Linked DNA regions of Homo sapiens: region 1 is linked to region 2. Evidence: promoter capture Hi-C in human tissues and cell types (Jung and others, 2019). All regions are on one chromosome and are shown on one strand. The core of a region is centred on a gene start or on the middle of the fragment in contact, and the rest is flanking DNA. Distances in the headings are between cores, read along the strand shown. Region 1 holds the start of UNC13B (unc-13 homolog B). Region 2 holds the start of GBA2 (glucosylceramidase beta 2).

Evidence for each region. The method cuts DNA at HindIII sites, captures the fragments that hold promoters and counts their contacts. A contact is called where the count stands out against the background at its distance.
Region 1: a contact is called between the fragment with the promoter of UNC13B here and a fragment that was not itself captured in region 2, in 1 of the 25 tissues and cell types used here (heart right ventricle).

What each region holds. Positions count from the first base shown.
Region 1 is chr9:35,159,431-35,165,697 of GRCh38, reverse strand. It overlaps UNC13B (unc-13 homolog B), which reads right to left and starts at 3,689. Exons shown (of 40, transcript NM_001371189.2): 1 at 3,393-3,689. The coding sequence starts at 3,414. RefSeq lists a silencer at 3,694-3,823. The HindIII fragment of the contact is 10,387 bases long and covers 683-6,267 here.
Region 2 is chr9:35,743,502-35,749,395 of GRCh38, reverse strand. It overlaps GBA2 (glucosylceramidase beta 2), which reads left to right and starts at 168. Exons shown (of 17, transcript NM_020944.3): 1 at 168-1,050; 2 at 4,690-4,781; 3 at 4,984-5,099. The coding sequence starts at 692. It overlaps RGP1 (RGP1 partner of RAB6A GEF complex), which reads right to left and starts at 109. Exons shown (of 9, transcript NM_001080496.3): 1 at 1-109. RefSeq lists a silencer at 70-469. The HindIII fragment of the contact is 5,426 bases long and covers 1,056-5,894 here.

The DNA of each region.
Region 1 (6,267 bases), core at 2,440-4,939, 580 kb after region 2:
CGCCTGTAATCCCAGCACTTTGGGAGGCCGAGGTGGGCAGATCACGAGGTCAGGAGTTTGAGACCAGCCTGGCCAACATGGTGAAACCCCGTCTCTACTAAAAATACAAAAAATTAGCCAGGCATGGTGGCAGGCGCCTGTAATCCCAGCTACCCCAGAGGCTAAGGCAGGAGAATCGCTTGAACCTGGGAGGCAGAAGTTGCAGTGAGCTGAGATCATGCCACTGCACTCCAGCCTGGGCAACAGAGACTCCATCTCAAAAAATTAAAAAAAAAAAAAAAAAAAAATTCAAGTCAATCACCCGCTGAATGGTCAATATCCCCTTTAGAATCCTTACCACTCATTCAATTTCTGTTTAGTGTCAAAAAATCTACATAGCCCATTCCATTTGTTCTGAACAACCCAACTGTTCTTCTTTATGTTAAGCTAAAATCTAATTTCCTGTCATTTTCAACCACTGATCCACACTTGTCCCAGTTCTGTCCTCTGGAATGACAACAAAAAAGGTGACATAACTTCTACAAGACAGTTTTTTAAACAGTCTTCATGTACTATCGTGATCCTCTTCCTCTTAAATCTTCTACAACTAAATTTCCCATATTCTTCAAATGGTTCGGTTCCTACATGTTTCATTATTCTAATCACTCCCCTCTTAAGATAACCTAGCTTCTCAATATGCTTCTTAGAAGGAAATACCACAGCTGAACACAAAATTCCAGATCTGATCTGACCAGTGCAATTACTTCCTTTGTCTGGGTCACCATAAGCACCACAATACAAGACCAGTTGCAGGCAGCATATGATTCATTTCCAAACTAGTGGCACTGTTCAGACCACAAGTGCTCCGAGGATTTAAAGGAAAAAGAGATCACTGTGGACTGGGGACCTGAAGAAGTTTTCAACAACAAAAAAAGTAGACTGTTAGCTGGGAAAGTAAGAATACATTTTAGATAGGCAGAAAATATGGAACGAGTATTTCAGGGGGCACAAGTGCAGAACAGAGCAGAGGCAGGAATAAACAAAGTTAGTGCTAGAGCAAAGTCTGCATAAGGATAGGCAAGAATAGAAGGCCACAAGTCTGGAGTCAGAGTATTGAGAGCCTTAAACCTGCAGGCAATAAGGCATGATTAAAGGGCAAGACAAAATAACTGACTTCTTGAATGAAATGTTTAGGAATGATTAATTCAATACCAGTTTGCCAATTTCTACATCAAGTTAACTACTTTTTGAACTCTGCATAGGAAGTTTCTAATTGATTCTACTCCAAGATGAATTGAAATTGAGTTGTAATAAATATCACTATATAGACTGCTTTCAGAATACAACATTCCTACTGCCAAAATACAACGCAAGGAATGTCATTTTAGAAAGATGTATTTTGTGCTGGGTGCAGTGGATTATGCCTCTAATCCCAGCACTTTGGAAGGCCAAGGCAGATGGATCACTTGAGGTCAGAAGTTCAAGACCAGCCTAGCCAACACAGTGAAACTCTGTCTCTACAAAAAATACAAAAATTAGCCGGGCCTGGTGGTTCACTCCTGTAATTCCAGCTGCTCGGGAGGCTGAGGCATGAGAATCACTTGAACCCAGGAGGTGGAGGTTGCAGTGAGCCAAGATCGCAGCACTGCACTCCAGCCTGGGTGACAGAATGAGACTCTGTCTCAAAAAAAGAAAAAGAAATAAAAATAAAGATGTATTTCAATTCATTTCTGTAAGTTTTCCCAAAATGAATACTTTGCCATTCAATATGAATATCTGCATATAAGGTACCTGTTTGTTTCAGTATTTAAAATCTTCTAGATCTCTATTCAAAAAGACAATGGCCTGCTGATCTCGTTTCTCCAGATTCAAAAAAGAAGAAACTTCACTAAAGTAACATTAAAAAGGAAAGAAGTTAGCTAAATAGCAGAATTTCTAGACAATGAAACCTGCCTGCTATTAAAACAAATGAAAACACCAGTAGTTATATAAATTCAGTTAAATAGGAATTTCTGATTCACGAGTGCTCCTGCCTAAAGAGTCTTTCATAAGGACCAGCTCTGTAATACAGTGTGGCCGTAGAGAATTAAACTGTCCAAGAGACACAGCAAAGTCCAACCTCTCCCAAATCCTGCTACTCAGCAGCAGGGATCTAAAGGAATAAATAGATTCCCAGCTGCTGAGAGAAAATGTCTTACTAAAAGCAAAGCAAAATTCTCATTAATGAAAAATCAACCATGAAAGAAGAAAAACTGTATATCTCATAATCCCGGGAAATGGCCAAATCCATTTTGGTTAATGCAGATTCAACAAAATAGTGGAAGAGAACAGAGCAAAGCAGTTTCATCTGCCAGTAGCTGGGGGAAACATCGTTATTGGAGAAATCACAAACAACAACAATGCTTCTAATCTGTAGAGCCAAAAGAAATATGAACTCTCCAGTAAAAGATATCAGGTAAAGGCTCTAGTTGATAAATGCTCTCTCATTCATAATCAAGACACATCAGATATGATAGGCTGTAACCTGAATTTCCCGAGATCAAATTCAATGGCTAATCCAAACCCTGTGTTTTCCTGATCAGATAATCTCTCTGAAGTCACAGTACTTGCATTCATTCAAAACCAGCATTAAGCTTCTACTACGTCAGACACCAGGAATACAAAAACTAATAAGAAACAGTCTCTACCCACATAGAACTTAGTTCGCGTACCATGCCTCATCTTAAACCCCAAAGCTCTTGCTTTAAGATATCTTCTTAGATGGGTCAAGTGTCCTCAGGGGAAAAGCAATAATGGCCCTTCACCTTGAGTTACTGTGAGGCAAGCTAAAATAAAAATAAAAATAAATCATACCTCTTATCCTCAAAAGCAGTCACCACATCCTCCCAAGTGGAACAGAAGAATAATCTTAGCCTATACTACCGGTTAGTGTTCAGGGAAGTGGCAGGGGACAAGACAAGCAATAGAAGGGATGTGACAGCTGTACCACTAACGCATTCAAAGTGTGATAAAAAGAACCTGCTACTAAGCATACTGTAGCGTTACGGTGCGAGGAGGAGGAAAAGAATGAGAGGCTGCCCACCATTCACAGGCACCAACCATCCGCGGTCTTCTAACTCGTCCACTCTCACTAGAGAACCCCAGTCACTGTTTAATAGGATCTGAGCCTGCAGTCCAACAACATTGTCACATGGCTACCAGAATGGAGAGCTAATCGTCCCTTGCAGGAGCTTGGGGGAAAACAAGAAAGTGGAAAGAACTCAAGTGATTGTTAAGTGATTGCCAAAATAATAGACCCCCAAAGCACGGACGGGATGTAAAGTTTGGGTGAGACGGTCACCGGACGTCCACTGGAAGGGTGCGGGGACCTCTACGCCGACACCCCGCCTCCCCGCCTCAGTCCGCGCACTCACCGCGCACGCAGAGCAGTGACATGGCCGAGGATCGGGCAAGCCTCTGCCGCGCCCCAGCCGCGCCGGACCGCTCCCTCTTTCCTCTCAGCAGGTGCCGCGACTGCTCTCGTTACCGGCCCCACGGGTCTGGCAGCTCCTCATGGTCCCGGTCGCAGGTAGCGTCCCGCCGCTGCCTCGGACCCGCCCCAAATCTCACCGTCTGAGCGAACTCCGGGTAGCGGTGAGTACCGGCCGGCAGGCTGGGGACTGGGCGCGGCACAGCGACGCCATCGCTGGGAGGTAGGAGCTGCCGGGACTCCCTCCCGTCATTCCACCCGGGATCCGCGCGAGCGCCTGGGCGGAGCCAACCCGTGGTGCCCCGCCCCCCAGCCAATTAACTCACGCCCAGTCCACCGACCCCGCCCCCCCCCGCGAGCACGTAGGAGGCGGGGTCCCCTTCCTCCTTTCTTTCTTGCGATCCTGAAGGAAGCTCCGCCCACTAATCAGGCTTACTGCAGGGAGCAAGGGGTTGACCCTCAGTTGTGTGACGCGAGAATGGAAGCCCTCTGTTCCTCCTGCATGAGCGGGGCTTCCACCCAAGAACAGATTCTTTTCATTGAAGGATTTCCACTGGACTTTCTTAGAGTCTAGCGGTCATAGCTGACAGCCTGTAATTTTAAGTTAACGAAGTCGCACCGCACAGCAAAGTTAAGTTTTGTTTAGCAACTAGGGCAAAAGACAAAACTGAGTGGGCATAAAGTATGTCTGGAGACCTCAGTTCTTATCTAGACCGTTTTTTATGCTCATCATTGTATCTCCAATGTCTGGAATAGTGCCTAGTGTATGGTAATCAGTCCGTAAATATTTACTGAATGAAGGATGGTAACCACGGAGGGATTGTGAGTGGAGATACCTCTGATCTTTGACAAATCTCCTATCCATGCTTGGTACCAACATGAGCTAACTCCATGGCTCAAACCAACAGGACAATTTGCTAAGGTCTAGGAGCACCCCCTCCAGAGAATCCCTGATCTCCCAAAATTTGGTCGAGATCTAAAGTTCATTTTGTTGTACAACTCCCTCTATTATTATTATTATTATTATTATTATTATTATTATTTTGGAGTTTTACTTGCTTCCAACAAGGAAGGCAAGTTTTCCTGCTTCCATGACGAGGGAAGGCAGGTAACTCTTTTATGGAGTTTGAGCTCACTTCCAACAGGGAAGATGAGGGGTTTTTTTCCTACTTCTGGGATGGTAGACAGCCGTTTTCAGCCTGAGACGCACCCCTAGGTAAGTAGCTGAATAGGGATTTTTGTCTTGGCTAAAGTTAACAACCAGCTGGTCTTAATTTCTGCTTACCATTAGAGTGCTCAGTGATCATATTGTTGGGTTTTTTTTTATTTTGTTTGTCTTTTTCCCATTGACCAACTCTACTTCACTTGGTCAAATCCAAGTGAGAATTCCAAATTATGGGTAACAAGGCCTATCTAATTTGAGTAAAATTCCTCACAGCTGCAAAAGAAAAAACAAACAGAAAACAAAAAACCATGTATTTGGTTTCTGTGTTTGCTTCCTGGTCTTAAAAATTAAACTGTTCTTAGGCCGGGCGCGGTGGCTCACACCTGTAATCCTAGCACTTTGGGAGGCCGAGGCGGGCGGATCACGAGGTCAGGAGTTCAAGGCCAGCCTGGCCAACATAGTGAAACCCTGTCTCTACTGAAAATACAAAAAAAATTAGCCGGGCATGGTGGCGGGTGCCTGTAATCCCAGCTACTCGGGAGGCTGAGGCAGGAGAATTGCTTGAACCAGGAGGCGCAGGTTGCAGTGAGTGGAGATCGAGCCATTGCACTCCAGCCTGAGCTACAGTGTGAGACTCTGTCTCAAATTAAAAAAAAAAAAAAAAAAAATTCAATTGTTCTTTTGTTTACTTTTCTTCCACCCTATACCTCCTTCACCCTTTGCCATCTGCATTACCAAAAAATCGAGAGAAGGCTTCTAATGACTTGAACCTCTTTAAAGAATTTAGGCCGGGCGCCATGGTTCACGCCTGTAATCCCAGCACTTTGGGAGGCCGAGGTGGGCGGATCACGAGGTCAGGAGTTCGAGACTCAGCCTCGCCAACATGATGAAACCCTGTCTCGACTAAAGATACAAAAAAAGTTAGCCAGGCATGGTGGCACGTGCCTGTAATCCCAGCTACTCAGGAGGCAGAGGCAGGAGAATCACTTGAACCTGGGAGGCGGAGGTTGCAGTGAGCTGAGATCGTGCCATTGCACTCCAGCCTGGGTGACAGGGCAAGACTCTATCTCAAAAAAAAAAAAAGAATTTAGAACAAAGGTGCCACTCACCCCCTTTTGGGGTGTTCTCTTGGCTTTGTGGGATTTCAAGAGTCATGGGCAGATTCTTCTTAGGTCTAAAGCTCTGTTTTCCTGTATTGCATGACCTGACCTTTTTGGCTTTGGGTGCCAGAGATGACCTTGCACTGTGAGAGGATTTGACCTTGGTGTGTATATTGTTGGAAAAGAGCTACAAAGTTACGGGTGGCTGAGCACAGTTTATAGGAAGTGGTTTTGGCTGTTTCCTTTTTTTTTTTTTTTTTTTTTTTTAATTTTCTCTCCTAGGAAGTCGTTGTTTAAGAATCCTAATTCTAGGCCAGGTGCGGTGGTTCACACCTGTAATCCCAGCACTTTGGGAGGCTGAGGCGGGCGGACCACTTGACCCCACAAGTTCAAGATTAGCCGGGCCTGGTGGTGTGCACCTGTAATCCCAGCTATTCGAAGGCTGAGGTAGGGCAATTGCTTGAACCAGGGAGGTGGAAGTTGCACTGTGCCGAGATCGTGCCACTGCACTCAGCCTGGGCGACAGAGCGAGACTCCATCTCAAAAAAAAAAAA
Region 2 (5,894 bases), core at 2,519-5,018:
CACTAGGGATCGGCACCCCTAGGCCTCATCTGCCCGCCCCTCAGGGACCTGGCTAGGTACGCGGCGGCGGCGGCGGCGGCGGCGTCCGCTGGGCGGTAGAGGCGGGACTTCCCTTCGGTCCCCCACCCTCCGCGGAGTCCCTTCCGGCCGGAAGCGCCCGGCAGGCCAGACCGGAAAGGGCTCGGGTCATCCCGGCGCCCAGGGTCACCTTCCCACGGGCTGGCACCTGGGCGCGGGCGCTGCCCCGGAGCCGGCCGGCGGGACCTGGCGCCCAATCCTGGGGGACCCGGTGCCGTGGCCCAGGGGCCGGGCCGAGGTCCCGGGGGCGGTGCCTTGCGGGCCCGTCCCGGGGCGGTGCCTGGTGGGCTGGCCCCGCGGCTCCTCCCCTCTCTGCGGGCCCAGTCGCCCTTTGGCCGGGCGAGCTAATCGTCGGCTCAATGACGACGAGGCCCGACCCTTCCCGTCCAGGACCTACAGAGACAACCGAAGGAGAGCCCAAGGCGGCTTCTTTGCTGTCGCCGCCCCCACTGAAGCAAGAGCTCCCCGGCTCCACTGAAACACCAGCTCATTTAAGCTTTCCCCAACGCCCGGCCCTCCGGGACGATACCTAACAACGACCGGCGCCCGCATCTGGAATAGGCTGGCGAGATACTTAGTATCCGAGGGCTCGGGACTTGGCGCCATCGAGGTCATGGGGACCCAGGATCCAGGGAACATGGGAACCGGCGTCCCAGCCTCGGAGCAGATAAGCTGTGCCAAAGAGGATCCACAAGTTTATTGCCCTGAAGAGACTGGCGGCACCAAGGATGTGCAGGTTACAGACTGTAAGAGTCCCGAAGACAGCCGACCCCCAAAAGAGACGGACTGCTGCAATCCGGAGGACTCTGGGCAGCTGATGGTTTCCTATGAGGGTAAAGCTATGGGCTACCAGGTGCCTCCCTTTGGCTGGCGCATCTGTCTGGCTCATGAGTTTACAGAGAAGAGGAAACCCTTTCAAGCTAACAACGTCTCCCTAAGCAACATGATAAAGCATATAGGCATGGGCTTGAGGTGAGTAGACCCCATTGCCTAGAATGCCTTTGGCTTCACTTTGTTCCAGCTCAAAACTTCTAGCAGAGGTGGGAAAGGGCAAGAAAGCAGTTGGGCTTCTTGTCTGAGTGAAGCGGTCCCTATCCCTGGCATATTTTAGGCCTGTGGTTTTGGACCGTGAGACCAGGTCACATCTCTTTGCAACACCCTTCCCTCCCAGTGTTTTGTCTTTTCAGAAGGAAAGGGTAGGAACATTTGGTCATGCAATCAGCCTTTCCCATTCAGGCTCTTCTCACATACTGGTTTCCAATGACTTCCCTTTGGGATTAGCTATACTTTGTGGCAAGGTAGGAAAGGATAATCTGGCTGCTGTGATACTAACACAATGTTGTTTTATTTGGGGGTGGGGGGGTCTCAACCCCTTATTTCCCACAAGCAGCTGGGGCATTCTCTGTACCTCATTAGACACACTGTTAGAGTCCCAACACTACTGCTTCTTTCTTCAAGCTTTAGCTCCAGGGAGTAGGTAAGAAGAGCCTCCCTGCCCTCACCTCTGAAGTGATGAGAAGGTGCTGTCATTCTGTTCTGGGATAGAGAGCTCTTGATATTAAGTCATTTATCAGAGAGGCACTGCCATAGATGTAGAACCCATCTAGATCCCCACTGAGTTCAAAGACTAGTGATGAGGAGCCAGACCCATTAACAGGAACAGGTGGATGTGAGGACAGAAAGCATCACCCTGAGGTCATCCTGACTCAGTCTACACAATACACACAGAACTGTGGAGGGAGGCATAAAGCTTGGGAAACCCTGCCCTTACAGTTTCTAGAGTAGGAGACCCTTCATTTCCCCAGTCAGTGCTGTGGGGCTGTGATGGGGAGATCAGTTATCTAACCCTAGCCCTGGGGAGTGGGAAGGGCCTGATGCTGCCTGCACATCTGGCTTTGTTGGTGCCTGTGGGTAGCCTGTAGCAGAGAAGAATCATCCCTCCAGGCTGCTTCTGGAATCAATTCAGTCCAAGTTTGACCCCAAAAGTTTTTGCATCAAAATAGGATCTAGTGTACATAGAGAAGTACACTGAGTTGCATGTGGTAGGAACAATGAGATCAAGAAAAGATGGGCATCCTAGCCTCTTAGCCCTTAAATATGAACTGAGTCATAGAGGCCTGAAGCTGTGCTCAACCCCCTGGACCCTGGCTCCCCATTCCAGGATAGAGTGGGGGGTACTGATACAAGGCTTTTGGAATAGGATGAGTTCCTATGAGGAGAAAGCACAGGTGAGACAAGAATTCTAAGTGATAACTCTTGAGTTGAGGTTGAAATTGTGGAGAAGGCCAAATAGGTCAGGAATGGCCAGCTACCATATTAAGGGAGTAAGAGAGCTCCTAAGATGGAGCTGAACTGTGGGCACTCTGACCAGGAGCTCTAGCAAGACAGAATTCTCTGGGTCTTACCTTCGTAAGAACTCAATTTCAATTGTTCTCCCTTCCAGCCAGAGTCCACTCATTCAATAAATATTTATTGAGTGCTTGTTCCATGCCAGATAGTCCTTTGTTCTGTCTGTCCTCATAGATTGCAGTTACTCTCCCTGGTTGCCCTAATCCTCGGCCACACCCTCCCTCTACCAGTCCTTTCTGGTCTCTAGTTTCAAAGTCCGGTTTTCTCTAAGCTGGCAGAGAGGATTCTCTGCCTTCCTGTCATCCCATCCTTTGTCTTCCCTCTTCTTTCCACCCCTAGAATGTGCTGTCCCTTTTTATTTTATTATTATTTTTTTTTTGAGACAGTCTTGCTCTTGTCACCCAGGCTGGAGTACAATGGTGCAATCTCAGCTCAGTGCAACCTCCGTCTCCTGGGTTCAAGCGATTCTCCTGCCTCAGCCTCCTGAGTAGCTGGGATTGCAGGTGCCTGCCACCACAGCTGGCTAATGTTTTTGTATTTTTAGTAGAGACGGGGTTTCACCACATTGGCCAGGCTGGTCTTGAACTCCTGACCTCACGTGATCCGCCCACCTCGGCCTCTCAAAGTGCTGGGATTACAGGTGTGAGCCACCGTGCCTGGCCGCTGTCCCTATTCATTAATCACATTTCTTCTCCTCTGCTCCAGTCTGTTATCTCTCTTGTGCCCCATCATTTGTATGTTCATTCATCTGTAAAATTGGCAAATATGCATTGACTGCAGACCATATGTCCTACCCTGTGCTTGGACCTGAGGGTAATATTCAGCTAGTCTTTGTCATTGTCCCTTTCCCCAAGGAACTTAAAAGTATGTCAGCCTCACATGAGGAACATTGAAATAACAAGGCAATGTCTGATTAGGAATTGAGATAACAGTTTGTATATATGAGTAATAATCATACCTGTACTTTATGGCTTTCTTATCTATTATGTCATTTGATCTTTCAACCATTTCATTAGATAGCTAGAGCAGGTGGTATCCCCATTTTGTAGATGAGGAAACTGGGACTTAGGGGTTACTTACCCAATTATTTGGTTAGAAGTGGTGTGACTGAACAGTAGGCATAATGTGGCAGTAGGCAGGAGAGTGGAAATGGGAAAGAGTCTGGCAGGGCAGGGGCTACTTAGTGAGGACCCATCTGGAATGAGAATTTGTAGGAAATAAGATTAGAAGATAGGCTGGGACAGATGTCAGAGCCTTGAAAACAGAATCGTTTGCCTATTGAAAACAGCCTCAATCATTTGCCTCTTGGATATAGGGCTGTACCAAGCCCAGGAAAATGTTGGGATTTTTTGAAGGCTTTACCAAGAGCAAAATCAGAAAGCTTCACAGTTTAAATGTTGAATTTAAAAAAAAAAAAAAAAAAGGCTTGAGAGGAAATGTCCAGAAATAAATATAAACACTGATTGTCTATGGGTGAGATTATTTTTTTCCCCCTTTCACCTTTCATAATTAGAAAGAAAAATGATCATTTTAAAAAGAAGAAAGGCCAGAAGCGGTAGCTCACGCCTCTAATCCCAGCACTTTGGGAGGCCGAGGCGGGCGGATCACCTGAGGTCAGGAGTTCAAGACCAGCCTGGCTAACATGGTGAAACCCCATCTCTACTAAAAACACAAAAAAATGTGCCAGGCATGGTGGCGGGCACCTGTAATCCCAGCTACTTGGGAGGCTGAGGCAGAAGAATTTCTTGAACTTGGGAGGCGGAGTTTGCAGTGAGCCAAGACCGAGCCACTGCACTCCAGCCTGGACAACAAGGAACGAAACTCTGTCTCAAAAAAAAAATAATAAATAATAAAAATAAAGATAAGAAAGTTATTCCCAGCAGCCTATGCCTGTTTTGGAGGTAGGGGATTGGGGGCGGAGGCTGTAGGCCAGGAAACCATAAATGGTCCTTTCAGCACGTCAGACAGAAGCTCCTGATGTTGGAAATAAAGCAGTGGTGGTGGTGCTAGAGAGGTAAGGAGAGATCAGAAAGCCCCTTCTGAGGAGAACAAAGGAGAGAAACAAAGCCACTCCTTCACTTCAGCTGGGGTGACTGGGAAGATGAAGGGACCTTGAACTGTATAGAAATCAAGAGGAAGAAAGGTTTGAAAGCAGATGTCCTTGGGACATTTAATGGGAGGTCACAGAGAGAGGCAGGTGACTCAGCCTGTGAACAGCTGCCCACCTGCCCCCTTCCACTCACATTGCCTCTTGCTCCTCAGGTACCTGCAGTGGTGGTACCGGAAGACCCATGTGGAAAAGAAGACACCTTTCATCGACATGATCAATTCTGTACCCCTAAGACAGATTTATGGTGAGCCCCACCCCATCTCTGCTCTGCTCAGAGAAGGCCTAGCCTCCAGGTCTACCACAGTTAGGAAGAGACTTCCAGCTTATGCAAATTGCACTGTTCCATCCCCTAGGTTTTCAGAGGAACCAGGCTTTATAGTCTAGAAAGTTAGAAATGGGCTTATTTTCCTCTCCCAATACCCCACTAACCACCCTGATTTCTCTAGGTTGTCCCTTGGGTGGCATCGGGGGAGGCACTATTACCCGTGGCTGGAGAGGCCAGTTCTGTCGTTGGCAGCTTAACCCTGGAATGTATCAGCACCGGACAGTCATCGCTGACCAAGTAAGAGCCAGGAGGTGGAGAGGCCAGGACAATACCTCCCCAGGCCAAGAAGGAAGGACCTCTTGGCTAGTGTAGAAGGTAGCAGTTAGATGTGAATAAGATTCAATCTAATAAGTACTCTCGGGATGCTTCCTGTGTGCCCAGCCCTGAGCTAGGATATACCGTAGGAATAAGACACACACAAGCACACATTCCTTGAAAGAGTAAACAGATCTGGCATTTCTCTAGTAAATGCCTCCTGTCTACCTCACTGCCCCAACCCAACTAGCTGAGGCAGCCCCCAACCACAGAGAATGCAGAGAATTCCCAAATCACTTAACCTGCCTGAAAGAACATTTTGTAGGACTGGAAGGGAAAAGAAAACCCAAAGTCTATAAACTCATGGGAAAAAAAGACACGTAGTACAAGGTTCCTCACCCTGATTGAGGAACCTTCACCAAAGTTCAGCTCCTCTGCTGATCACTCCCCTGGAGGTCTCCTGGCTTAGGGTCTAAAAAGCTCCTTCTCTCCCAGGCTTAGATCTCTAGCCTTCTTCCCTCTTCTGAAGCTTCACTTTTTTCCTTTTGCTCCTGCATCACATCTGGGCCTTAAATTGCCAGAAGTATGTGTCCTGCCTCTCATCATCTCTCTCTAGTTGACCGCCCCTTTAGAGTTGCCTAGGAAGTTCCTCTTTCTTGGCTCCAGCATTCAGCCTCATCTTCAAAGGAAAAATGACTAGCAAATCTTTAGTCCAATTAATGACAATACCCTTCCTGGTTCACGTTTACCAGCCCTGCCCATGTCCCAAGATCCCTC